Regions from separate parts of the Homo sapiens genome. Here region 2 is linked to region 1. Evidence: promoter capture Hi-C in human tissues and cell types (Jung and others, 2019). All regions are on one chromosome and are shown on one strand. The core of a region is centred on a gene start or on the middle of the fragment in contact, and the rest is flanking DNA. Distances in the headings are between cores, read along the strand shown.

Region 1 (3,502 bases), core at 948-3,447:
GAGAGTATTTCCTAGTTAAGCTGGGCCCCCTGACACCTGGGCACTCAGGGACCTGAAGTATGCCAAGGGAGCCCCAGACTAGCCAGCTTCTCAGAGCTGAGCATTTCTCTCTTTAAATATCAATGCCTGACACAGGGCCCTTCCAAGGCCAAAGGCTAGAGCTGGCCTTACCCATTTTCCTTACTTCCCTTACCTGCCCCCACAAGCCACCAATTCAAGGAGCACAAGGTTGGGAGCCATGTGTGACCTGAGACCTAAGTCTACCCTTCCCATTTAGCACCCATAAAGTCCAAGATAAGGCCCTCATCCCTGGAGCCTCATTTCCTCCTTGGTAAGACGGAAGGGTGAGGTGCAGGGAGAAAGGATTAAAAGATCAAAAACAGCAATTTCCCCAGCAAGCTCAAAATCACCGGAACCTACTGAATCACACAGGGGCAGGGGGCGGCGGTGGCACGAATCCCTATGGTTGGCCTGGGTAAGGGGAGGCTTTGTGGAACCAGAAATTGATGTGCCGACCACAGCTCTTATGGCCCAGACTTAACTGATGCTATTAGGACTGACCTTGAATTCCACCAGAGGGGCTGTCCTTGTTCAAAACTGCCTAGGTCTGCTAGCCTCAGGGCTGCCCGGCAGGGGCAAGAAGCCGGCAAACATTTGCTAGCTGGTATCAGGGACCCGGACAGGCTGGAAAACCATGTCAACCAATCAAGAGGTCCAAGACCAGTGTCCTCTTTGGGCCTAAACCCCAATATATCCCATGCTATGGGGGTCATGGCAGGCTAAGGGCCTTTCTCTCTGGGTAGACTGTCACTTTACACTGCCTTCACATGCAAGAAGAGGGGAAGAAATACCTCCTGTGGCACAGGCATCTGAATCACTATTTTGTGGATGTGGAAAACCCCTCCTGGAGAACACCCCCCATCCACTAATGCCCTATTTCTGAGCTCTAAATCATGCCAGACTCTGCTAAGGGTGTTTCACGCACTCAGTCGTCACAAGCGGAGACCTTATTTTTAGCCCCAATTTGCAGGTGGTGAAACTGAGGGCGCTCGGAGACTTGCTGAGGTCAGCCAGCCGAGCGGCGACAGGGAGTTCTGAACCCAGAGCCTTTGCCCCTAACTTCTAGAATATACCGAGCTGTTCAGTAGAAAGGGCAGAGCCAGGATTCTAATCCAGCTCCTCCCTGCATTAAAGCCCTGCTCTTTTCCCAGCCAGACACCAAGTGTGGCTGCCTCAGGCCAGGACATCCCCTGGGGCTCCACACCTCAAGGGAACCTCTGGTGGAGATCTCTTCCCCCGCAGGCTTCCAGAATGCCCCATGCAACCTAGACCATGAGGCAGCTGGACCCCACAAAGGACCCATTGTGGTGACTGCAGAAAGCCAAGGCCAGACCCCGGTGGCCCTTCTGCAGAGTCCTGCCCAAGGCGCCTCCTCCCCTTCCCATGGTGCCCCCATACCCAGCGGACAGGGCTGGGGCTGAGGGAGGGAGGGGCGGGGGCAGGCCTCCCGATCTGCCCGGCCTGGGGGAGCCTCAGGCTATAGAAACTTAAAACCCTCCAGCTGCCGGCAGGCTGCATGGGGCCCCAGGCCCCTCCGGACTCATTCCAGGTGCCCTGCCCCACCTGTCAGCTGAGGTGGGGTCCACCAAGGAGGCTCAGTAGAGGGAGGAGAGGGATGCTGGGGTGTTATGGGCTGTTCCCATCTGGGAGGAGGGAGGAAATGTTTCCTAGTGTGGGGGAGGGGAATGCAAGGTATCCGGGCAGGCTGGGGAGGGGGCTCGGCGGAGGGAAGGTGGGTGGATTTGTCTCCCGCTGCACGAGGGGGCCTCCGCGGCTCTGGCTGGCTTCGTGTGCGGCAGGGGGGGGGCTCGCCTGGGGTCCCTAGGGGCCTGCGGAGGCATGCACAGGGCGGGGAGCCGCTTTTGCATGCAGGGCGGGAGGGGTCCGCGGCGTGCCGGGGCGCTCCCTCTGCCCGCTGAGGGAACTCCCGACTGGCCGGGGTCGCCACACTCACCTCCTGAAGTCAAAGGGCATCGTGCCGCCGCCGGGGGTGGGAGCGCTGCAGGCCAGGCGGGCCGCGGCGCCGCGTGGGTCCGAGCCCGCTGCCAACGCCTCCTCCGGCCGCCCCGCCCCCGCCGGCCGCCCCCCTGACACTCGCCACTCGCCACTCGCCACTCGCCTCCCGCTGCCGGGAAGTGACGCTCCGCGCAGCCCATTGGGCGCCGCCCGCCCGGCCGCCCCTTCCGCCACCCGGTTAAAGGGGCCCGCGGGCAGGCAGGGAAGGGGCGGAGAGTCGAGGCTGTCGGAAGGGAAGGGAGTCCCCCAAAGACTCCAGTACTCATTCCTTCAAGCCTCCCACTTAGATTTCCTTCTCCATCTCTTTGGATGCCCTCGGACAAATTCTCTGCTTCTCCGAGCCCAGTTTTTTGCATTTGTAAACAGTTTCACTGAACTGTGATTGAGTTGGGGGCGGGGGGCGGGGTGATACAGACTTTGGCCGTGCACAGCGTCTAGCTCTGAGTGAGGGCCTAATACTGTGGGGGAAGGGAAGAGGTCGGCCATCCTAGGCTGTTAAGGTGGACTCACCTCTGCCCCTGCCGTGTCTCTCTGGGAAAGCCACTGGGCTTCTCAGAGCGCCCCCCCCCCGCCCCGCCCCTTTTGCATATCTGCACAAAGAGGACGATGACACCTACTTGAGGGGGTTTTCCTGGGGATCAGCTGAGAAACAGGAGACTGGCTTAGCACAGTGCCAGGCACCTGAAACTATTGAGGCTGGCAGTGGCTGTCCCTGCTTCCATCTGCCCCTGTCGTTCACTCCAGTGGGCATTCACAGAGCATCTGCTCTGAACCAGGTCCATCGAGAACATGCAGGGTTGTGGCAGAGGCAGATGGGACCTGCACTGTGACTTGGCCAACGTGGACTGTGCCGATTGTCTCCTTCTTAGAGCCTCAGTTTCCTCCTCAGGAATACAGAGCAGCTGCCTCCGTGACTGCTGGATTAGAGGAGATGGTAGTTGAGGTCACACAAGACCTGAGTAGGGGAAACTCACTCTGAACTTCCCCGAGGTTCTGTCACTGGCCCTTTCTCCAAGGTTGTGGTGGGACAGGGCTTCAAAAAACCCAGGGGAGAATGGTGAGGGCTCGGGTTCCAAAAGCAGAGTCAATGGACAGTTTCCCCCTGTGTAAATAGAGGGGAACAGCAGTGCTGGTTCCTCCGGGAGGATTCAGAAGGGACAACACTAGCACGGGGTCTGGGGTAGGGTGACGTGGTGAACCAAAGCCTTCCCCTAGAGCATATGCCGGGACCTGACCTCTGCGTTCCCTTTTCATTCATTCACTCATTCATTCATTCATTCATTCAGTGTCAGTGGTCTGACACTGTTGGGGGAGAAAAGGAAATCTCAGCCTGAACTGGAAACCTAGGGACAGCAGGGAGAGTTAAGGGATCTTGAGCAGCCACTGCTTCCAAACAGCCATTCGTTGGCCCTGTGTGGGAGGAAAC
Region 2 (3,580 bases), core at 314-2,813, 140 kb before region 1:
CTTTCAAAGAGTACTCAGAAACGGCCCATCTGATCTTGCCATTTTATCTTTGCATTTTCGATGAGATAAGAAGGCAGAGCAGGTATTATCATCTGTTTAGAAGTCCAGAGATGAGTAACTTGCTCAAAGGCTGATGACTGCCCAGTGGCAGAGCTAGGATTAGACCTGGACAGTTGGTGATAATGCTTTCCTAAGTAGCACTACCGGCTGCAAACACATAGGTTCTTGTCTGTTCCACATAAATATGCAGTCTCTTATCAGACTCCAGTGAAAGGCTGACAAGAGTGAAGGAAGGAAGACTAAAGATAAGTGGCTAATGTGGGAAGTGAATGGCCTTTTGATGCAGTCAGGCTCAGGTTCAAATCTTGGCTTCATTTCTTATGCTGTGATTTGGACAGTTAACCTAAGCTTGTTTTCTTCATCAGTCAAAATGGGAAACAACACTGATTCAATTAACATTTATTAAGAAATTCCAGTGTGTCAGATAAACCATTACTAGAAAGTCATAAAAGGCTGTTTGATACATTTTAATCAATACATTATTATTTTTTAGGCTAGTCATGGTGGCTCATGTCTAATTCCAGCACTTCGGGAGGCCAAGGCAGGAGAATCACTTGAGGCCAGGAATTTGAGACCAGCCTGGGTAACATACTGAGACTCCCATCTCTACAAAAAAATTTAAATATTAGCTGGGTGTGGTGGCACATGCCTGTAATCCCAGCTACTTGGGAGGCTGAGGTGGGAGGATCACTTGAGCCTGGGCTGTCAAGGCTGCAGTGAGCTGAGATCACACCACTGCACTCCAACCTGGGTGACAGAACAAGACCCTCTCTTGAAAAAAATTTTTTTGTGTTTTTTTTTAGGACAGGTGCAGTGGCTCATGCCTGTTAATTGCAGCACTTTGGGAGGCTGAGACAGGCGGATCACTTGAGGTCAGGAGTTCAAGACCAACCTGGCCAACATGGGGAAACCCCGTGGTGGCGCAGGCCTGTAATCCCAGCTACTTGAGAGGCTGAGGCAGGAGGTTCACTTGAACCCGGGAGGCGGAGGTTGCAGTGAGCTGAGATAGCGCCACCGCACTCCAGCCTAAGCAAGATGGAGACTCCATCTCAAAAAAAGTTTTTTTTTTTTTTCCCACAGGGACAGAGGATTTTGGATGTGGCCCTGGAGATACATTTTCTAAAAATTTTTATTCACTACATACCTCTCAAAGGAATTAAATCTTTTTTTCTAATTAAAAAAATTAATTTTTTTTTTTTTTTGTAGTGGTGGGGTCTCAGTAACCAGGCTGGTCTTACACTTCTGGGTTCAAGCCATCCTCCCACGAGTATCCCAAAGTTCTGAGATTACAGGCATGAGTCACTGTGCCTGGCCAAAGGAACTAAATCTTGAAGATTTAGTTGCTTGAAAGTTAGACCAGGAGTCTAATGCGGAGGCCAATGGAGGCCAGGCAAGAAGCGTATGGGAGCAGAGCAGGTGGGATAGGGAACCGCCAAGCCCTTGGCTGCACTTAACACTGCAAAACAGGGAGAGCCCCGTGGAGCCAGGTGAAGCAGGTGATTCTCTGTGGAGTCTCCCACATTTTAAATGTTGGAAAATATAGTGAAAAACAGTATCTCAGTTAAATCTTTCCTGTAGGCTGCCAGTTTCTCAAGTTAGTTCCAGAGGAAAAGGGGCTTTTTAGTCACATGAAAATGGCAATTGCAAAGTCAAAACTTTGGGAAGATAAGCCTGGTCAGGGAGCTGCACATGATTTGGTTTAGTTGGCACTTGGAGAGAAAGCTGGGGAAGCCCAAGTCAGGAGGCCAGAGAGCAATCTGTCAGGCGTGAGATGTGACAGTGCACATTACAACTGCTACTGAGTGGGGCAAATCCCTGTGTCAAGGACCAGAGCATGGCAGCTCACGCCTGTAATCCCAACACTTTGAGAGGCCAAGGCAGGAGGATCATTTGAGCCTAGGAGTTCAGGACCAGCCTGGGCAAGATGATGAGGCCTGTCTATATAAGACTAGAGCCCTGCCCTTTCTACTTCATCAGCACAAGAGTCCAGGCAAGAGGAGGGCCATTTAACCCTACCCCTGCGATTTTGCTGTTCCACACATTAAATAGGAAAAGACTGGCAAAGGGGAATTGATAGTAAGTGGAATTTATTTATAAAACAATGCAAATACTATGTGGAATTAGGAAGCATTTCCCATTTTTATTCATAAAATTATTACTTAAAATTGCAAAAGTAGATTTACAGAGGCACAGGTAACAAAACAGGAAATGAAATGTTCCAGACATTCCGAAAAGTTCGAAAGAAACACACCCTAGCCTCAAAATCTCCGGTTAAACCGTGGTTGCACAACAGGTTCTATTTATTCCTGCATTTTCTCAATAAGTTCTTCTTTATATTTGCCTTTCTCTTTTCCAACTTGTCGAGACTTGGCTTTGCGTTCAAGAATTTTTTTCCGATCCTTGTCCAGTTTTAGCCTGGTGATAACCACCTGTTGGGAGTGAGAAAACAGGTCTTTATTTCTGCATCCCCACCAGCTATTGAGCAATATAGACATCATAAGTTAAGTAAGACCTCAGCCATTCAGCTTTTAAGGAACTGAAACTCTGGAAGGAAAACAGACCCTGTAACACAATACAAAATAGGAACACAAAGGAAAAATAGCATGTTCCACTAGGTAGGCATGAGGGCTACAGGAAGATATATTCTCTCTTATTCCTCTGAATATTATGTGGTAGGGGAAGTGATGCCTAGAACACTTGGAAGCCTCTTGCAACCAGCTTAAAGACACAGCCATCGGCCGGCCATGATGGCTCACACCTGTAATCCCAACACTTTGGAAAGCCGAGGCGGGCGGATCACGAGGTCAGGAGATCGAGACCATCCTGGCCAACATGGTGAAACCCCATCTCTATTAAAAATATAAAAATTAGCTGGGCGTGGTGGTGTGTGCCTGTAGTCCCAGCTACTTGGGAGGCTGAGGCAGGAGAATTGCTTGAACCCAGGAGGTGGAGGTTGCAGTGAGCCGAGATCGCACCACAGCACTCCAGCCTGGTGACAGAGCGAGCATCCGTCTCAAAAAAAAAAAAAAAAAAAAAAAGACACAGCCATCACCAAGAAAGGCAAAACAGAAAAGAGAAGAGAAGAAAAATCTGGATCCTTGATGATATCACAAAGCTACTGAATCAATCAAGTCCACCTGGCCTGCCTCAGCCAACTGTGCAGGGAGTACCAAAACACCAATAACTTTGAACAGTATTGACACACTCCATGGCTGCTACTGCCACTCAGTCCTTGACCATACCTTGCTTGGGTGAATGCCCACGTGGACAGTTGTGCCGTTGGCCTTCTCACGCTGCACCCGCTCGATGTAGATGACATATTTCTTTCTGTACACCTGGACTACCTTGCCAATTTGCTGACCTTTGTAGTGTCCTCGAACTACCTAAGAGAAAATACAAAAGAGAATCCCCCTCCATTTGTAGTGCATGATCATAAAGAGGAAGCTAACCATCAGGAACACATGGGCTAAACATATAACTTTGTCAAAAGCAGCTTAATCCTGGCAGTCAAAAATTAGCT

What was found. The method cuts DNA at HindIII sites, captures the fragments that hold promoters and counts their contacts. A contact is called where the count stands out against the background at its distance.
Region 2: a contact is called between a fragment that was not itself captured here and the fragment with the promoter of ERGIC1 in region 1, in 1 of the 25 tissues and cell types used here (hippocampus).

Annotation. Positions count from the first base shown.
Region 1 is chr5:172,832,946-172,836,447 of GRCh38, reverse strand. ERGIC1 (endoplasmic reticulum-golgi intermediate compartment 1) reads right to left here and starts at 2,197. Exons shown (of 10, transcript NM_001031711.3): 1 at 2,015-2,197. The coding sequence starts at 2,034. RefSeq lists enhancers at 1-458, 755-964, 459-1,451 and silencers at 1,435-1,514, 1,525-1,574, 1,945-2,344. The HindIII fragment of the contact is 25,389 bases long and covers 1-3,502 here.
Region 2 is chr5:172,968,322-172,971,901 of GRCh38, reverse strand. It overlaps RPL26L1 (ribosomal protein L26 like 1), which reads right to left. Exons shown (of 4, transcript NM_016093.4): 3 at 3,303-3,443; 4 at 2,131-2,489. The coding sequence ends at 2,361. Among named protein-coding and RNA genes, the nearest start is that of RPL26L1, 11 kb to the right of the region's middle. The HindIII fragment of the contact is 7,277 bases long and covers 1-3,580 here.